Linked DNA regions of Homo sapiens: regions 1, 2, 3, 4, 6 and 7 are each linked to region 5. The links are contacts of gene promoters, found by promoter capture Hi-C in blood cells and fetal thymus (Javierre and others, 2016). All regions are on one chromosome and are shown on one strand. Each heading gives the region's core, a stretch centred on a gene start or on the middle of the fragment in contact. The rest is flanking DNA. Distances are from core to core; before and after follow the strand shown. Region 1 overlaps PIRAT1 (PU.1 (SPI1) induced regulator of S100A8 and S100A9 alarmin transcription 1). Region 2 overlaps PIRAT1 (PU.1 (SPI1) induced regulator of S100A8 and S100A9 alarmin transcription 1). Region 3 holds the start of RMDN2 (regulator of microtubule dynamics 2). Region 4 overlaps PIRAT1 (PU.1 (SPI1) induced regulator of S100A8 and S100A9 alarmin transcription 1). Region 5 holds the start of CEBPZ (CCAAT enhancer binding protein zeta). Region 6 has its middle 24 kb from the start of RMDN2. Region 7 has its middle 8.1 kb from the start of PIRAT1.

What was found. The method cuts DNA at HindIII sites, captures the fragments that hold promoters and counts their contacts. A CHiCAGO score of 5 or more calls a contact.
Region 1: a fragment that was not itself captured here is called in contact with the fragment with the promoter of CEBPZ in region 5 in 4 of 17 cell types (activated CD4 T cells, naive B cells, total B cells and 1 more); the score reaches 7.6 in activated CD4 T cells.
Region 2: a contact is called between a fragment that was not itself captured here and the fragment with the promoter of CEBPZ in region 5, in 2 of 17 cell types (endothelial precursors and naive B cells). The highest score is 5.9, in endothelial precursors.
Region 3: a fragment that was not itself captured here is called in contact with the fragment with the promoter of CEBPZ in region 5 in 4 of 17 cell types (total B cells, fetal thymus, activated CD4 T cells and 1 more); the score reaches 6.2 in total B cells.
Region 4: a fragment that was not itself captured here is called in contact with the fragment with the promoter of CEBPZ in region 5 in 4 of 17 cell types (naive B cells, neutrophils, total B cells and 1 more); the score reaches 5.9 in naive B cells.
Region 6: a contact is called between a fragment that was not itself captured here and the fragment with the promoter of CEBPZ in region 5, in 1 of 17 cell types (M1 macrophages). The highest score is 5.1, in M1 macrophages.
Region 7: a contact is called between a fragment that was not itself captured here and the fragment with the promoter of CEBPZ in region 5, in 10 of 17 cell types (activated CD4 T cells, neutrophils, fetal thymus and 7 more). The highest score is 8.7, in activated CD4 T cells.

The regions. Positions count from the first base shown.
Region 1 is chr2:37,845,489-37,848,188 of GRCh38, forward strand. The region is part of intron 2 of PIRAT1 (PU.1 (SPI1) induced regulator of S100A8 and S100A9 alarmin transcription 1); the gene reads right to left. Among named protein-coding and RNA genes, the nearest start is that of PIRAT1, 29 kb to the right of the region's middle. The HindIII fragment of the contact is 1,412 bases long and covers 589-2,000 here.
Region 2 is chr2:37,861,416-37,864,218 of GRCh38, forward strand. The region is part of intron 2 of PIRAT1 (PU.1 (SPI1) induced regulator of S100A8 and S100A9 alarmin transcription 1); the gene reads right to left. Among named protein-coding and RNA genes, the nearest start is that of PIRAT1, 13 kb to the right of the region's middle. The HindIII fragment of the contact is 1,091 bases long and covers 886-1,976 here.
Region 3 is chr2:37,922,594-37,925,315 of GRCh38, forward strand. RMDN2 (regulator of microtubule dynamics 2) reads left to right here and starts at 2,694. Exons shown (of 11, transcript NM_001170791.3): 1 at 2,694-2,722. RefSeq lists a silencer at 2,509-2,722. The HindIII fragment of the contact is 850 bases long and covers 878-1,727 here.
Region 4 is chr2:37,826,374-37,829,073 of GRCh38, forward strand. It overlaps PIRAT1 (PU.1 (SPI1) induced regulator of S100A8 and S100A9 alarmin transcription 1), which reads right to left. Exons shown (of 4, transcript NR_110012.1): 3 at 2,560-2,665; 4 at 1-1,505. Among named protein-coding and RNA genes, the nearest start is that of PIRAT1, 48 kb to the right of the region's middle. The HindIII fragment of the contact is 1,371 bases long and covers 652-2,022 here.
Region 5 is chr2:37,230,287-37,232,986 of GRCh38, forward strand. It overlaps CEBPZ (CCAAT enhancer binding protein zeta), which reads right to left and starts at 1,310. Exons shown (of 16, transcript NM_005760.3): 1 at 1,126-1,310. The coding sequence starts at 1,281. It overlaps NDUFAF7 (NADH:ubiquinone oxidoreductase complex assembly factor 7), which reads left to right and starts at 1,372. Exons shown (of 10, transcript NM_144736.5): 1 at 1,372-1,474; 2 at 1,820-1,980. The coding sequence starts at 1,420. RefSeq lists enhancers at 655-1,854, 812-1,261. The HindIII fragment of the contact is 13,102 bases long and covers 1-2,700 here.
Region 6 is chr2:37,899,711-37,902,410 of GRCh38, forward strand. No RefSeq gene overlaps it. Among named protein-coding and RNA genes, the nearest start is that of RMDN2, 24 kb to the right of the region's middle. The HindIII fragment of the contact is 3,778 bases long and covers 1-2,700 here.
Region 7 is chr2:37,882,602-37,885,301 of GRCh38, forward strand. No RefSeq gene overlaps it. Among named protein-coding and RNA genes, the nearest start is that of PIRAT1, 8.1 kb to the left of the region's middle. The HindIII fragment of the contact is 4,050 bases long and covers 1-2,700 here.

The DNA of each region.
Region 1 (2,700 bases), core at 45-2,544, 620 kb after region 5:
GCATTTTGCAGGATGCTTTTATTCACTCATAGCCAGATGAGTTTCCCTATGATCATCTGGGCCACTGGCAAAATGTTTTCTGTTTTTTTGTTTTGTTTTGTTTTGTTTTTGTTTTGAGATGGAGTTTCACTCTGTCACCCAGGCTGGAGTGCAGTGGTGCGATGTTGACTCACTGCAACCTCCACCTCCCTGGTTGAAAGAATTCCCCTCCCTCAGCCTCCCAAGTAGCTGGGATTACAGGCACATGCCACCACGCCCAGATAATTTTTTTGTATTTTTAGTACAGACGGTGCTTCAGCATGTTGGCCAGACCAGTCTCGAACTCCTGACCTCAGGCAATCCGCCCGCCTCGGCCTCCCAAAGTGCTGGGATTATAGGCATGAGCCACCATGCCCAGCAGGTACAATGTTTTCTAGTCTAACCTTTCAGTGGTGTCCTTTGAGAGTCCAGGCTTTACGTAGCCATCTCAGCACCTTTTGTAGACACGCAATCTTGTCTCTGTCCCTCCATAGCCATTAAAATCCAAGCCAGGAAAGTATCTGACCAACTCCTGACGCCTCCCCACACTGGCTGAAATATCAACACAGAAGCTTGCCTTCCTAGTTTGAATTTTCTTTTTTCCTTTGGCACCCAAGTATTTCCCATTCTTTCCTGAAACTTGAAGCAGAAATAAAAGAACTTCCACAATGTTCCATTTCATATCTACTCACCTGCCACAACTGTGCTCTACCTTTCCTCTCATTACTATGGATGAACCATCTGTGCCTATAGGGCCATTCCTTATACTTGTACACCAGCTCCCATTCCCTCTCACCTGTTCAAGGACACCACTCTTGTAATTCTCCGTTCTCTCCCTCTCTCTGTCTCTCTCTTTCTCCTCTCTCTGTCTCTGTCCTCCTCTCTGTCTCTCTCTTTCTCCTCTCCCTCTCTCTTTCTCCTCTCTCTGTCTCTCTCTTTCTCCTCTCCCTGTCTCTCTCTCTCTCACTCTCTCTCTCTCTCTCTCTCTCACTCTCTCTCTCTCTCTCCTGCACTAATTTTCCTCTTGTTCTTGGATTACTCCTATCAGCATGCTGGTATTTCTATTATTATTTTTTTTTTTTCTGAAAAAAAAAAAAAAAAAAAAAGAAAGAAACCTCAGTTTATCTTTCCACCCATCTAGTGTCCCACTTCTCTTGTTACAGAAAATTTCTCAAAGTTTTTGCCTCTAATTCCTCTCCTTCATTCCCCTTTTACACTCATTCCAATCAAACCTTTGTCCTCACCATTCCACCAAAAGTACTCTTTCAAGTTCACCAATGACCTCCACATTGCTAATTCAATTCTCGGTCATTATCTTACTTGACCTAGTAGCATAATGTGAAGTAATAGATGATTCCCTTCCCCTGGAAATCCTTTAATCTTGCTATGTTTAGGACTCTGCATTTTGTTTGTTTTCCTTCTTTCACATCAGTCACTTCTCAGTCTCATTTGCTATTTATTCCTTTTCTCCCCAAACTCTGGAGTACCTCAGAGTTCAGTCCTTGGATGTCTTCTCTTTTCTAGCCCTATTCAGTTTACTGATGATCCCATCCAGTCTGAAGCGTTTAAAGGCCCTTTGTAAGTTAACAACTCCCAAATGTATACCTGTAGCTTGTATCTCACTCCTAAGTTTCAAATTTATATATCAAACTGTCCACTCAACATCTCCAGTGGGCTGTGTAGTAGACTTTTCAAATATATCTTGTCCAAAAATGACCTCCTGCTATTTCTTATCAATCATGCTCTTCCCCATCTTAGTTAATGGCAGCTCCATCCTTCTGATAGTTCAGGCAAAAACCTTGGAGTCACTGTTGACTTCTTCCCCTCCCCTTGGATCTGAAAATAAAGCTCTGGAATCAGGGCAGTTGTTCCACTCAAATGAATAAAATGGTATGAACACAGAACAAAGGGAGCCTATGTTCTGTTAGGAAGGGGTAAGAGAACAAATAAGTGTGACATGAAACTGAACATGCCACATGGGAAGCTTAAAATGCTATATGGGTTGGAAGGTGGGAGAGCTAATGCCTAGAAATAGAGATTCTGATAGGCATCTAAAAGGCACAGGCTTCTGAGATGTTCTGAGATGTTCCTGAAAGTTGTGTATGATTGGATTACTTACAGTGGGGGTGAGTGGGAATTCCAGGCAGAAGGAGCAACTGAGCAAGACCCACATCTTCACAGTTAGCTCTGCCTTCCCCTGGAGTAGGACTCTTTCTGCCTACCCTGGCAATATGTCTCCTGGGAGCCCTTCGTAATGCCTGGACCCCAATTCCACCCCATCTTACCCGCCAACATAGATCAAATCACAGTTGCTCTGTTTCACCAACATTAACTTCCAAATTGTCTCTCACAGGCTTCCCGCTCTCAATTCATGTTACCCCCATCCCAGTCCACACTTCCTCTCCTATGTTGTGTCTCATTGCCTATCTCTTGGCCTTTGGGCTGCCTCCCCCTCTGTCCATTCTGTTCACTGCAGCCAGATTGACGGTAACAGCGATGATGACTCTTTTGAACAACATGTAAGAGCCTATTCTGCACCACGCCTTGCTCTCAAGGAGGCTTGTAATCAAGAAAAAAAAAAAAAAAAAAAAAAAACTTGGAAACATCTACAGGATACAGATGTTTCTATAAAACTTAACATAATACAACTGGCACAGGAGAAAAAATGATAAATTCTATCAG
Region 2 (2,803 bases), core at 181-2,680, 630 kb after region 5:
AGTCATAAGTATCTGAGAATAAGTAATAAAGTGCATATTTTGGAAGCACTTCCAACAAATCAACCTTGCTTGAATCTCATCCATCTGCTAGAACTCTCCTACCCAACCAGCCTCATCCTGTGGAATAGTCCCTCCCTAATATCTCTCACATCCTTTATTTCCCTGGTCTCCTGCCACTATTCTAGTCCAGGTCCTCATCACAATTTGTCTGGATTATTGCAATGACCTCCTCGTCAGTCTTCCTGTCTCTAGTTTCCCTTTGCTTTCAATCCATTCTCCATGATGCCACTGGACTCAGGGCTTTGTCTTTGTCTTAACATGCCACTTGACATGCTCTAGCTCTGTGCAGAGCTCTGCTTCCCACTGCCTTCTGGGACAAGTGCAAATCCTTAGTCCAGCAGTCTAGGTCCTCGGGTTCCAGCCCACCTGCCCAACCTCCTCTCCCTCCATTGCTTAAAGTGCCAGCCAGGTAGAGGTGCTCATTGTCTATTCCCAGCAAACCTGCCCTCTCTGTCCATTGGTCCTCATGGCCACCCTCCACCTGGCTTGTCCCTACAAATCTTCCCATTTCTCTCTGTCTATTCAAACCCAAGCTCTATTATGGTTCTATCCCCTAACGCGTCTCCAACTGGAGAGCCAGCCCATCCTGGTCTAATAGAGTGGCTTTCTTATATTGCTTATTCTATTTCAACAGAAACTTCCTGGAGCTGAAAAGTAACTGGACTCAAATAGAAAATATATATATATATATCAGGAATAGAGGAATTTCAGGTACCAAACCTATGGTAGAGGAGCTACTTAGAGGCCAGAGGGCCACATAGATGACGGCATACTCAAACCTGGCTCTGTGTTCACACCGCTTTCATCTCTGGAAGGTGGCAAAGAAGCTTGTGCTGGCTCTTCCAGTTACCCCAAGGCCATCATGCCCCATCTTTTCTCCAATCAGAAGACATTTGTATCCACACGTGCACATTCCTTTATTTTGCTGCTTTGGATAACTTTTAAACTATATATTGTTCCCCACTTGTTTGGAGGCAAAGGTATAAAAAGGAGATGGGAGCAGATCAAGAGAGATATATTTGTTTTTAATTCTTTTCCGGTATATCAGTTAAAGTCCTCTGAGGAAGACAGAAACCACTCTAGATATTTCAACCAGGGAATCACTTCACAGATTATAGAGAGATTAGCATCTTTAGTAACCCAGGACCACTGCTGAGACTGGAGGAACATGGGGAGGAAGTAGCGTGACCAGAGACTGGTCGTCAGGGCCATGGGGCAGTGGCTGCTTAGTGGGAGCTGGGATCATGGAGGAAAGGGTTTCCCTGCAGGATCCACAGCCAAGAAGGAAACACAGCCACTGTAAGTGAGGCCACAGGAAGGGGGAAGAAGGCAAGAAATGACCACGATTCGCCCCCTCTGCACCCCCAGTGCTCCCTCAGGGCCCCCCATTGGTGTACACTGCCTGAAGGCTGGAAGGAGAGGGGCCCTGGAAAGAACAGGAATGAATCTGGGGGCACTGGCAGGCAGGCAGGCAGCACATCCTCCTCCTACACAGCTGCCACCACGCCCACACCTCCCTCCTCCTCATCCTGGCAGGCCCCTGGCCCTCCCAGATGACCATCAGACATCTCTAACATTCCCTCCTGACCTTGACCTCCACTGCATCAGCACTGTCCTTGCTGCCCCAACCCTCTCTGGCCTCTCTCTTGAGCTGCCAAACACTGAGGAGAACAGTCGCAGGGCTGTGCTGACTGAAGCCACTGACACGGGCTATCGAGCCTGCAGATGACCCTCACGGCTGCTGGACAATCCTTTGGACAAGATTCATGAATTTTCAGGCATCTCTCAGATTGGCTCCCCAAGTCTTTCCCATTCTCCTCAAGTCCCCACCCAAGCCTCATTCCCTCAGGTTGTCCTCTCACTCTCCTGAGACACCGAGCCATAGACATGACCTTTCTCCATGTCTCTCCTTTTGAAGCTTCAGTCATTCATTTTTTCCTCCTGTCTCTGAGGATGACACCCTCATCTTTCTTGTCCTGGGCCCCCTCTGTAACTTTGCTCCAATCATCCTCCCTTCTGATTTTTTGTTTTAAAGCTTCCCTCTCCCTTGGCTTTGTTCTCTCTACCTAGAAGTGAGCACAGGTGCTCCGTTGCTCACAAGGCAACAAGAAAAAGTCCTTTTACCTCTTTGACCCCCTCTCTTTACCTTCAAATGTATTCAAAGAGCAAGAGTAACCCACCATCTGTTTTTCATGGCTTCATGATTGTCCATTCCAATGGCTTTGATCCACCTTTCTTATCTGTGACTGTCCCAGTATTGGACTCCATTAACAACCTCCCCAACCCCACCCTCTTTCTGGAAAGGTCTCCCTCAATTTCTGTGAGGTTGTGCTCCGTTGCTCTCTGCCCCGCATTCTCTCCAAAAGCTCCTCCATCACTTCTTCCCGGCTCCTCTCTCTCCTCCTGTGCAAACACATAGGGGTCTCCCTACTCTCTGCCCTCAGCCCTCACCATGTAATCCCTGCACTTGGCCTTTCTGTCGTCTCTCCTCTCCTGCCCCATCTCTGTGTAGCATTCTCTGGATCTGTCCCCTGCTCCAAGCCTTGGGGACAAAAAGCTGGTCCCAAATATTCAACCAGCTGGCAATCTGATGCCTTCTGCTGCCACAAATCTCTGTACCCCAAACGACACTTATTCCTTCCCATAATCCCTCAGCCAGATCCTACCACTGACTTCACACTTTTCCTCGTGTTCTGCCTCAACATTTTATGTGGCCTTTGACTCTTCCGTGCCCACCTCCAGT
Region 3 (2,722 bases), core at 53-2,552, 690 kb after region 5:
GATGTTCACAGCCTCACAAACACACAGTCACTGGCAAGCAGTAATTATATAGTGTACACCAGAGAGGTTTGCTGTAAGCTAGCAGGGAGGCATTTTGTATTCATTGAAACTCCTGGTCCTTCCATAAGTTTTGATGGGGCATGGATGAATACTTCTTATGGGGAAGGAGAGAGTGTGTAGCTTCTCAAGGGAAAGAGGTTGAAGTGGTTGAATTGGTTTTGGACGGGTGGCAAGCAACAGGATATTCCAGGCACAAGGAACAGGATAAAAAGGATACAGCTTGTGGAGAGACGATCAGTAGCTTAGCTAGTGCTGAAGTGTAGAATGATGTCTGGTGGAAGTAGCGGAGAAAAGCTGGAAAAGTAGGTTGGGGCAAATCGTGAAGGGTCTGTACCCACTCCTCCCAAATGATTGTCATGCCGTACTGGTTTGATGAATAACAGCAACTCTGAGATTCTTAGTATGTTCTGGTTTTTCCTTCAGATATTCCTTTTAGACTGACATTCCTAGTAGTGGGGAGGGGAATCATTTCTGCTTTTTTATGTCACCCCTGCAACAGTACCTGGCAAAGATAGCGCCTGTCTTTGCTATTTAGTTACAGCTTTGCCAAGGTCAATGGTTGTCACTGTCCCTGAGTTTCTACCTTTCAGATAATTTTTACTCATCAAGGAATAGAAACAAATGTATTGGAAAGGAGCAAGTGTGACATAGTCTATGTCCTGAACCTGAAGATCAAGTCAGTATCAGCTGCCATCTTCCTCTTGGAATAGACTGGTAAGGCCTTGTTCACAGCCCATACGTCACATTTTTATTGAAAGCCTCTTCTGTGCAATGTGCTGGGGATGCAGCAGTGAACAACTCAGTGGGCTCCTGGAAAAGCTTAAATTTTGTTTTAAATACTGAAAAGCTCCTTTTAAGTATTAGCGAAGAGACAGTCATGTTTCTTTGGTATCTAAATCTTGTTAAAAGAGAAAATTGTTTTGCATGATCGGTTTATATCATATTGTATTCTAGTTAAATAAAGCTAGCATTATATTGCAAGATTGCTGCAAACCATAATAAATAGGAGTGAAGTGGGTTTGTAGAAGGTAATATTTTACTAGTTCCAAATCTGAGAGGTTAAAGATTAATCTGCTCTTTTTCCAAATACAACTTAGGTTTTTGCTCTTGTTTTTTGAGACAGAGTCTCATTCTGTCCCAGACTGGTGAGCAGTGGCCCGATCTCGGCTCACTGCAACTTCTGCCTCTGAGGTTTAAGCAATTCTCATGCCTTAACCTCCCGAGCAGCTGGGACTACAGAAGTGCGCCACCACACTCGGCTAATTTTTGTATTTTTAGTAGAGATGGTGTTTCATCATATTGGCCAGGCTGGTCACGAACTCCTGGCCTCAAGTGATCCGTCCGCCTCAGCCTCTCAAAGTGCTGGGCTTACAGTCGTGAGCCACTGCGCCCTGCTACAAATTACTTTTAATAAAATGACCATGGCCAGGCTTACTTATTCTTCAATGCGGCTTGCCTGAAGCTCAAAAAATCATCTTAAAGAGCCTATAGAATCCCTGAATCCCTATCCGTAAACAGTAGTATATGGATTGCAAAACAAGCCTTCTGGATTCTTCATGGCTTTATGGGTGTTGTCTGCTGTTGCTGTTTTGAGAAAGAGTGTACCCATTTTTAATTCTGCTCAATATATTGGTGGGAAGTTTAGAGATTAATGTTATGCAAACCTAAGCTTGAGGCAGTAATACTCAAGGTGCGGACAATACAGAAGCAGTGTATGTACTGTTTTGTTTTTGTTTTTGAGACGCTCTATCACCCAGGCTGGAGTGCGGTGGCGCGATCTCGCCTCACTGCAACCTCTGCCTCCGGGTTCAAACGATTCTCCTGCCTCATCCTCCCAAGTAGCTGGGATTACAGGCGTCCACCACCACGCCCGGCTAATTTTTTGTATTTTTAGTAGAGACAGGGGTTTCGCCACGTTGGCCATACTGGTCTCGAATTCCTGACCTCAGGTGATCCGCCTGCCTCAGCCTCCCAAAGTGCTGGGATTACAGGCGTGACCCACCGCGCCCGGCCCAGTTTTTAAGAGCGTATTTAGCAGAATTAGTTTCATTATACAAACCACAGAAAGCTGGGTAAAACCTTAAATGTCAGGCATCTGAAAAAACAGCGGCTTTCATCTAAAGGCAACTCGGAATGGCGGGGAGAAGGAAGAGGCTGTCAAAATTGCTCATTAAAAGAAAACGTGAGATAAAGCTATGAACACGGGGCTGCAGATATCAGTAATTAGTGCAAGGCGTCTGCCTTTAATTCAGTCGTGAGGAGTAAAGTGCAAGGTTGTGCCTAGAAAGGGCACAGAAAAAGGTTTAACTAGGGGAGAGGGAGTGGGTTTGAGAGCCGGAACGAAGCGAGCTGGCGGTGGGCGTGCGGAGTGGCAGCAACGCGAGAGGGAACGCGCTGGGGCTAGCGCGGAGGCCCAGAGCCCAGGCGGGGGAAAAGGTGCCGACCGGCTTCGAAGGGAGGCGACGGCCGAGACACACGGTCCGGCGCGAGCCAGGCGCCCCGCGACGTGCAATTTTATTTTGCAAAAGGTGCACCCAACGCCAGTCCCGGTAGAGTTGAACCCACCACGAGAGGGAGAGGGGGCGGGAGCGGGGGGCCGAGCGGCCGCGGGCTCCTCCCCCGGCGCCTCCGCTATCTGGGTCAGGACGCGACGGCCGCGGCG
Region 4 (2,700 bases), core at 87-2,586, 600 kb after region 5:
GCAGGGCTGCACTCCCTCCAAAAGCCCCAGGGAAAGGTCCTTCCTTGCCTCTTCCAGCTTTTGCTGGCACCAGGCATTTTTGGCCTGCAGCAGCCTCACTCCAGTCTCTGCCTCCATCTTTACTTAGTCTCTTCCGGGTCTGCAACTTCTTCTGTCTCCTATAAGGAGACACTTGTCATTGGATATAGGACCCACCCTGATAATCCAGGATGTTCTCATCTCTGAGAGCCTCAATGTAATTACATCTGCAAAGACCCTTTTGCCTAATAAGGTCACATTCACAGGTTCCAGGGATTAGGAGATACATGTATCTTTTGGGGACCACCATTCAGTTCACTACAGCTGAGCAGCTGGGATTTGACTCAAGCAGTCCAGCTCCAGCACGTGGCCTCCGACCATCACGCCATGCTCTCTCATGTGGTTACTTTTCACAGGTGTCAGCAAAATGCCTGCTCAATGATCTGAGATTTTTTTTCACAAATCATCACAGAGCTGAAATGCTCATTTTTCTGTGCTGCTACTCTGTCCATGTTCCAGAAAGGCAGCACATTAAGTCTACACCACATCACGCATCCCCTGACAGATGGAGAGAATATCAGCAAATCAGATTGCTTTCTAAAGAAAACAGAATCCAACTTTGCAAATGTTTAAAGCTTGCATATTTTCAAAATTTCAAGCAAAAGTAGAAAACCTCATTACCTCAGATCACGGTTGACAAAACTACCATTGACAAAGAATTATCCTACATGCAATGAAAACCCAATATAAGACAGTGAGTGATTGTCCAAAACGTGGGTGTTAGGTCACTACCCAGACAACAGCAGAGTTGACGGTTCTACCCTAGCTCTCTTTTGATGAGGGAAAACATTATTTTTAAATGAAGCCTGCCACTTCAGTGTAGAAAACATAAAGATGTGGACAGTCACCATTGTCATTTAAAGGGTGAGCTGTATTTCTTCTGAAGTAAAGTGATGAGTCCAGGCAGTACACTCACTCTATCAGATATGATTTGAAAAGCTGAAAAATAAACCTCTGACAATAAGATTTTAGGACAGAAATGCTGCCAGGGCTCGAAGTACATTTCAGAAGAATAAAAAGAAAGTAAACGATGCCAAAGGCCAGACAAACAAAAGGAAAATTCCTACTTCGTTTGTTCTCATGAAATGCCACAGAAAAATAATCTGTTAGGCAGCTCTTCTGGAGTCCAAGTTCTTGCGCTGTGCTCATCTCTTCTTTCTGTTAAAGCTCGGTGCTTTGCAAGCTGTCGTTAAATTGCTTACACGGATGGACGGGGCCAAGATGGTTTTCAGTCTAAAGCCAGTGAGAGTCTCAAGGCAGATTCTGAAGGCCTTGAACCACCTGAGCCTGGCCAGATGGATTCTTCCTTTCACTGTTGTGACCATTGCTTTGGTGTCAGAACCCTATGGGAGAGCTGAGTCCATGACCAGAATCCTCATGCCTTTCACAACTCCAATTAGCCAAGAGCATGGCACGGAGCAGAGGTGCTGGTGGGAGAAAACAACACATAGGTGAAAAACCTCGGGATTAGGCATTTCAAACAAGAGGCATTCATTTTGCCCGACACCCAGAGTTGCCCCATAAACAAGCCAGAAACTCAACCAGGCGGTGACGGAACAAGGAATGGATGAGTGACAAACTGGGCTGTTGATTCTGTTGTAACTGAGGCTTGACTGTATTAACAAGCATGCAGTGATTAAACAGACCAGCACCAGAATTTTAGCAGCTACCTTGAAGCCTGCTGACTGACACTGTCCCTGGAGCCCCTGTTATAATGAGGTCCTTGTGATAACTTACTCCCTTGGATAGAGTCCAAGACAGGCACGTGCCCTGTGGAATTCCACACTGTAACCAACCATACTTCAGAGAGATTCCAGAATAATGATGGTATTGCTTATTTAGGCTGAAGGTTATCTGCTCCTCCTCCTCCAGATCCCTGCCAGCCAAGGGAAGAGCATCTCATTGGTGTCAGATGACAAGGGTCTTGTTCCCTTTACTGGAATAAGCTTCTTATGTCATACAGACTCTGGAAGTCCTGAAAAGCCATCTGTCTTGGCCTTTACTTTAGGAAAGAAAGTATCATAACCTGCCACAGCAGTGGGGACAGCTGAAGCCGGGGGTTACTATTCGCCCTTGTTACTATTCATGGAGGCTCTTAGGGAAATGACCAAAAAGCTCTTTATGGCTCTTGCAATTAATCCTGAAATTCTGGTTGTCACTTGTGGGTAGAAACATATGGTTTACAAATGGGTTGATGATTATTATTTCAAGGAAAAACTAAAACATTATAATGAGAGTTATAACATAATGGTGGGACAGTATAAATAGGGAGAGAATTTGTAGTGTTTTCTTGTTCGTTTTGTTACATGAATAGACAGCTAGGGGAAAATGGCATTCTATGGGGAACTGATGGGATTTATTTAATATTTATTTAAATAAATTTATTTATTTATTTATTTAGACACCTCTTTTTTCCCGTCTAAGTTATAAACTAATTAAGAGATGGACAAAGAATAAGGTAAAGGAAGGTCAAAATATTACCTTGGGCAGGGTGCAGTGTCTCACACCTGTAATCCCAGCACTTTGGGAGGCCAAGGCAGGAGGATCACTTGAGTTCAGGAGTTTAAAATAGCAACATAAGAAGAATCTGTCTCTCCAAAAAAGAAAAAGAAAAGAAAAAAA
Region 5 (2,700 bases), core at 60-2,559:
TCATACACATAAATGAGTATGTATATGCTTGAAAAGGTATATAGTATCCCTGAAAGATATAAAATGCAGTTGTAAAAATAATTGCTTCCTATCAGGGCAATGGTTATGGCTGAGATAAAAGTGGAAACAATTTGACTTCACTATGTATCTTTTAAAGTTTGCACCACGTGTTTCATGTGTATATATTACCTATTCAAAACTTAAATATACACAAGCACAGAGCAAACTGTGAATCTGCCTATCTCTAACTAACTCCTCCACCTTGAAAGTCCAGTCTCCAAACAAAATAATATTAAAAACAAAGTTAATTTCTGTTCCTTATCTGCTTAAAATCTTCCAGTGGTTTTGCATCAAACTCAGAGCAAAAGCCTGCCCTCTGACCCCTCGGCCCTCCTTTCTTACTATTCTCCCCTTAACTCACTCTGCCTCTGCTACACTGGCATTTTGGCTGCTCATGGAATAGGTTAGGCACTCTTCTGCCTGTCTTTGCATTTGCTGTTCCAACTGACTGGAATGGCAGCTCACTCCTTCCTGTCCTTTAGGATTCTGCTCAAACATTTCCGTGATGTGTTTGTCGATCATCTCATTTAATACTAACGCGCTCCCACTCCTTATCGTCCTTCCTTGTTTTATTTTCTTTTATAGCACTACCCCGCGTCTGCTGTACTATGTGTTTAAAAGTTTGTTTACTGTTTCTCTCCCTTAATTAGGATGCTCCAAAAAAGAGGGCTTCTGGGGCATACAGTGACACGTGCATGTACTCTATGAGAACAGAAATGAAAATTCCAATACCACTGGTGTTCAAAACACTCATACCACAAGGTCAGGACCAAGAAAAGCCACTCTCCGACCTGATGGTGTGATGGTTATACCACGTCAATAAAATCAGAAGATCGCCTACATCCTAAGAATAGCCAGAGAATACAACGTTCAATTCGAAACTTTTCTTTTGTAAACAGCAGTGGAAACCGGCGTGGGAAGCGCACCGAACACATGCTTCAGAGGCTGGGATCTCGGTCCTGGACGCCCGCGCTCTACGCAGCGCGGAAGCGGCGGGGCAGTCAGCCTAGCCACCTTCGGAACTCTCCACGCCTGATCCCGTTCCCCGGAGCCCGCGGCCGTTACCTTGGTGCCTCCGAGCCGTAACACTTCCTCCAGGGAGAACCCATTCTCGGCTTCACTAGTATTATCCTCATCCTCCTCGTCCGGATCTTCTACTGCCTCCTCGGGGCGCCAAGGCCGCTTGGCATGGAACTCCAAAGGCTCCTTGACTGCGGCCATGGCGGGCAAAGCATACGCGCGTGAAACTCAGCCTATTTCCGCTCTGCCAGTGGCGTAATTCCTGTCGGGGCGTGTCTTCTCCCGGAAATGGTCTAAGCCCCAGCTCCTGGCGGAGCGAGCTAGCCTGCGAATTTCAGCATGAGTGTACTGCTGAGGTCAGGTTTGGGGCCGTTGTGTGCCGTGGCGCGCGCAGGTAAGCGTCAGTCCCCTCGAAGCCCGGTTGCCGTGGAAGCCGCGTGGGGCGCCTTCCTCAGCTCTTCAGTTGAGGGTACCGGGGGATCAAGGGCTCGGGGGCTCACTTCCACCTTGAAGGTACCCTGGGCTGGAAACGGGTCCGGTACAAACGCAATAGGGCTGCGTAGTCGTGGGCAAGTGGGTGCTGTCTCTGCGCCCCGTGGGCGTGCTAAGCACAGTAGCCCGCGGTCTGCGGTGGGGCGAGGTTAAGGGTTCACGAAGCTGTTTTGAAAACGCTCAGGCGGCTTGCGCTCGTGAATGGTCAGATTTATCATGGGGTCTGTTTAATTTGTGTTTTTCGCAGCCATTCCTTTTATTTGGAGAGGGAAATACTTCAGCTCCGGGAATGAGCCTGCAGAAAACCCGGTGACGCCGATGCTGCGGCATCTTATGTACAAAATAAAGTCTACTGGTCCCATCACTGTGGCCGAGTACATGAAGGAGGTGTTGACTAATCCAGCCAAGGTATGGGTCGGGTAGCCCGAGGACTAGGCCCTCTCTAGCCGATTTGCGAGGTGCAAGCCAGGAGGGAGAAGCCCGAAGGTTCTCAGCCCAGGCAGTGGGGGTGCCTGCCAGGGGAAGAGCCATTTCTGAGGACCTGGGGACAGATAATTTGTCAGTTGGTCAGGGCTGGCTCACGTCAGAGGCAGTGCCAGTAAAGAGGAGAGGACACGGTCCAAGGGTGTTTAGGAGACAGAATGTAGCTGATTGGATTTATGATGCGGGAAGGATGACTTTCCTACTTGGCTGATGGTGGGTGGTGTGGATTCATTGCTTTGGGAGAAGGAATACGGGAGGAAGGATGGAGAGTTCAGGCTGGTATATGAATTTGAAGTGTGTGGGACTCTTAGGTAGAAATCTCCAACAGGCAGCTGGAAATAGGAATTACTGCCTGGAAAGTCGTCTGTGTTGGAATGGCTTCAGCTGGCATTGGAGACATGTGCTGGGTTTTCTCACATGTGCAGTTGAGAATGCAGTCTGGGTCGTCTTCACTGTTCTAGGATTAGGCACAGTCACAGCTTTCTGACCCACGTTTCCTTGTCTGTTCTACAGAGCCATTTGGTGAAAGCCTATAGTCCTTTATTTTAGAATATTTCATCTTTTGCTGGGTTGAAATATGACCTCTGTGGAATTCTGGGGTTAGATTGGCCATTGTTGTTGGATATGGTAGTGTGACTCTAGTGT
Region 6 (2,700 bases), core at 72-2,571, 670 kb after region 5:
CACCCAGCTGGAAGAAAAATGTTTTAATTTGGGTTATCTTCCTTCTATGTTTCCACTGGATTTAGAAATATTGGACAGGAAGAATCTGGCAAATGAGAATTCAGATAGTATGATTAGACATTCATCACAATTATTCAACAAATTTTAGTTTACTTGTAATAATCTCTGCCTTAGTCTGGTGAGGCTGTGATATGGTTTGGCTGTGTCCTCACCCAAATCTCATCTTGAATTCCCACATGTTGTGAGAGGGGCCTGGTGGGAGGTAATTGAATCACGGGGTCAGGTCTTTCCTGTGCAGTTCTCGTGATAGTGAATACGTCTCATGAGATCTGATGGCTTTACAAGGCAGAGTGTCCATGCACAAGCTCTCTCTTTGCCTGCTGCCATCCAAGTAAGATGTGACTTGTTCCTCCTTGCCTTCTGCCATGATTGTGAGGCCTCCCCAGCCATGTGAAACTGTAAGTCCATTAAACTTCTTTCTTTTGTAAATTGCTGAGTCTTGGGTATGTCTTTACTGGCCGTGTGAAAAATAGACTAATACAGGCTGCCATAACAAAAATATCATAGCTGGATGCCTTAAACAACAAACAGTTATCTCTCACAGTTCTGAAGGCTGTGAAGTCCAAAATCAAGGTGCCAGTGAGATGGGATAGTTTCCTTGACCCCCTTTGTGGGCGGGAACTGGAGTGGCTTGTTTCACTCAGCCCATCACTGGCCGCTCCTCATGCGAGAAGGAGCGTGGGAGCGTGCGAGCAAGCGAGTGCAGGAACGGGAGGGAACGAGCGCTAGAACAGGCCGGTCACTCCTCTGGCGGGAGCAGGCTCTGTGTGGGCCCCATAACAGCATCCAAGCCCCTGCCCTCTGGGCACCTGGGTTCTTGTTCGGCATCCAGGACATATCGGGTCACACGAACAGATTGAAGGGTAGCATATGCGGAGGATTTTACTGGGTGATGGCTCTCAGTGGGATGGGAGTTAGAAAGGGGATGGTGCGGGAAGAAGGTGATCTTTCCCTGAATCCACACCGTCTGAAATTAGCCGCCATCTATAGATAGTCTGCAACACCCAGCCACTTATATCCCTGACATTCAGCAACTGGTATCCCCAGCGCTCAGCTGCTTGCATCCCCAGCCGTTTGCATCAGCCGCCTTGTGTTGCTCTGCCAGCTGAAGTCTTTTTATGGGCAGAGGATAGGGTTATGGCAGGCCAAAACAACAACATTTGGGCAGAAAAATGGGGTCAGCTGTTTTCAGTTAGGGCTGAGGTTCCAGGCTTGAGGGTGGGGTTTAGCTGGGAGCCCAGCCATTCTGTATCACCAGCAGATTTGATGTCTGGTAAGGGCCCACTTCCTGGTTCACAGACTGCTGTCTTTTTACTGTAACCTTATATGGCAGAAGGGGAGGTGAGCTCTCCAGGTCTCTTTTATAAGGGCACTAATACCATTCATGAGGGCTCCACCCTCACGGTCTAATCAATTACCAAAGGCCTCGCCTCCTAACCCCATCACATTGGGAGTTAGAATTTCAACAAATGAAGTTAGGTAGGGGATATACAAGCACTACACTCTCAATGCTTTGACTCTCTAGATTTAAAAATGTTTCCTCTGTTTTTTTTTTTTAAATCATACTCTCCCAGGCCCACTTTCTTTCCTTACAGTTTTATTGTGTCTACCTTCTGTAACACCCTCAAGACAATATTCCAGAGAGCTCTCTTCTTTCAAAAGAGCTTCCCCACCTGGTTGCTATTTTCTCCTGTTCTCTTTCTCTTTCCACTCCTCCAACCCTGTTGAAGGCATCTCAAACCACAGGCTTTTATACAAACCACAGAATACATGAGAATTTATATTTTTAAAAAATCTTGCCTGAATATGCCAGCAATTGGCAGTTACTGTTAAGGTATTCTTAGACTCCATAATACATGAACATTGAGTATTAACTTGAACCTAAAAATTAGGATACCGTGATTGAATAGACAATAATATTGCTTTAAAATTCTTCAGTGCAAGGTATCTCTTAATATAATTATGTTAATGTGTTATAGTATATATAGCATGAAGCACTAAAGACAGTATGTGGAAAGATTACAGAGAGATTGAAGAAGACATTGTCCCATATATATACCTCCCATGTGCTTTACATCCACTGTTGTGTATTTCAGAGTTCTACATCTTGTCTTGGCTACACATTCCCTCCAACTCTCCCTTGGTTGGTGTGGCAGACTCTGTGAGCAAATTAACCCAAAACCATTCCAAACCTCCTTCTCTCTTTCATTCTCCTACTCTTGAGGTCAGAAAGCCAGGTACCTGGTTTCCAGCTTCTCTTGCAGCTGGGAAAGGCCATGTGTTCTATTTCCGGCAAATGAGTTGAAAGGATAAGTTTCATGGGGGGTTTCTGAGATAGCTTTTCTTTCCTGACAATTGGCACCATGTCTTTCTCTCGCTTCTTTCTGCCTTAAGCAAGAAAAGCACTAGGACAAAAAGCCAAAGCTGAGACTAATACAACTGAAAGACAGAGTCTGGCTTTTGATGGCATCATTGATTGATGAATCAATGCCAGCAACCACTTGCCTCTTTTTAAAAACGACTGTTAGACTATCTTGCTGTTGTTACTTGTAGTTGGAAGAGTTCTTAACTGATCCATCAATATTTTTGTACCTTCTCCTTCAGGCAAAAATTGTCAGGCTCGTTACATTTAGAGCACAT
Region 7 (2,700 bases), core at 52-2,551, 650 kb after region 5:
GCTGGAGTGCAGTGGCGTGATCTCAGCTCACTGCGACCTCTGTCTCCTGGGTTCAAGCGATTCTCCTGTTTCAGCCTCCTGAGTGGCTAGGATTACAGGTGCACGCCACCATGCCCAGCTAATTTTTGTATTTTTAGTAGAGATGGGGTTTCACCGTTTGGGTCAAGCTGGTCTCAAACTCCTGACCTCGTGATCTGCCTGCCTCGGCCTCCTAAAGTGCTGGGATTACAGGTGTGAGCCACTGCACCTAGCCTCTAGTACCACTTTCTAATGACTCCATAACCTGACATATTCAGGAAATGGCTAATGATCTAGGAGACCAACTCAAGAACAAATGAAGCAGTCAAGTAGTTTTCTTTTTGAGAGGAAAGAGGGTGCAATTACTAATTAAACTAGGACAACAGGCATAAATCCACACAGTTCAGGCAAACCATGATGAATGATCAATCTATTCAAGAACCTCAATCTCAGTATGTGGCACAGAAGTAAACTCATCAACTTCGTTTCAAACCTTATCTTTCTCCTATATTCTCTATAGTATTTACTAATATCACCATCCATCTAGGTATCCAAGCCAGAAACCTGAAAGTAGTCTCTGACATGTTCTTTCTACCCCTTCATCCCCATATCCTCATCCTACTCCTTCAACTTGGCCTCATGAATATTTCTTGGATGTATTTGTTTCTCTATATCCTACTCTAACTGCTCTGGTACAGGCTCCCACCTTTCTAGCTGGTCTATAATGCTAACAAAGTGCTGTCTGTTTCAACTTGATGAATACACACATATTGCCGACTTGGTGTAAAGGAAAAATTGTGTTTAGCAACTTAATCACCATGAAACACAACTAGCTCTGAACCATATACAACTGGGAAGGACTATATTATAAATAACTATGATGAAGAGTTTAAATTGCATGTATGAATATGGTCTGGTGTTGTAATTCCAATGACAGGAAAACATTATGGAATGGTTACCCAGCTTAAGGAGCTTGTGCCAGTGACTGTTAATTAATTTCTAGTTTTCTTCATTGAGAAAATCCTGTTAAAAACCTTTTACAAGTCAGCCGAACTACACAGTGTGCTTAGTGATATAGTAAAAACTGAATGACCTCACAGCCAATATGTTCAATTCAAATCATTTTCTTTATTATGTGTTAATATGGATACTGATCCAAACAATAACAATCGTTTCTTGATGAGGTGGGATGGTCATTGAAAGGAAATGTTCTGTCAAGTCAAGGATGTTTGAACTATGACATGAAGTCATAGTTATGTTTCTGCAAGATAAGAAATCAGTTTAGTCCTAACTTTTGCAGATATGAAACGGACAGTCAGACTTGCTTACTTGTTTGATGTCTTCAATATTTTTAATGATCATGGTATTTCCATGCAAGGAAGGGAAGCAGCATGCTCTTCAAAGGTAGACAAAGGGCAAACACAAAAGTTAGGAGCTTGGAATCAGAGTTTCTACATATTGGGATGACAATAGTTACCATACAGTTACTATAATAATCTCATTAGAGCACACCTGAGGAAAGTAATTGTCACGCATCTTATGCATTTTATAGAATGTTTTCAATATATCCATCCAAAAGAGTCATACACAGGAAATTCATGTATGTAAAATCTATTTCTTTTATTAAATGATAGTTGAAATATTCCACTGTAACAAGTAAAGAAAATATTCGAACTATTTTTTTTCTTTTTTGAGATGGGGTCTCTCTGTCACCCAGGCTGGAGTGCAATGGCATGATCTCGGCTCACTGCAACCTCTGCCTCCCAGTCAAGCGATTCTCCTGCCTCAGGTTCCCGAGTAGCTGGGATTACAGGCACCCACCACCACACCCAGCTAATTTTTTTGTTTTTTTAGTAGAGACGGGGTTTCACTATGTTGGTCAGGCTGGTCTCAAACTCCTGACCTCAGGTGATCCACCTGTCTTGGCCCCCCAAAGTGCTGGGATTACAGGCGTGAGCCACCACACCCGGCCCATTTTTAAATTAATTTTGATTGATGTTTAATGTTCAAAATGTCAGTAGAAGGTACACATAATTCATAAATAAATAGGCCTATACTGGCAATGTGGGCCCCAGTAGTTTTTGCTGATTGAGGTGTGCTATCATCAAAATTTGGAGTCTCTTGATTTAGAAGATAGAAATATCAGAATATTTTAGCTGATGTGATTAAAAATTTGATTTCATTCTTTAATTTCCCCTTAGTTGAGTCCTTCTGATTATGTTCTTCCATATGTCTATATGAAAAGAGAACGTTAAAGATACAGACTTTGAATCACAGTTCCAGACTGATGATCATGCTTTCTCATGATAAATTAATAAAGTGGTTTCTGATTACGACTCACTTTGCCATATAGTAAGTACAGAAAATTGTAAACAGTCCAGTCCATTTTTTCTCACTAAGAAGAGTAGTTGACATTTGGTGTTGACCTCCGTCTCCTACACTTGGTCTCTAGCCTGAGTTGGTCTCTCAGACTCTGATGAATCTGACGCCTTACCTGTGGGGATCTTGGTCAGGAACCCCTCAGTAAAGCACCTGCCACTGAGGGTCTTCTTTTGAACCAGCAGTTCTCAGACTGTATTTTTATCCCACCCCATCCCCACTGCATAGTTCTGCTTTAGTCCATTTTACATTTTCAGCTTTGGCATAAGATTTCCTTCTAAGAACAGTTGGAAGCTAGTGCCT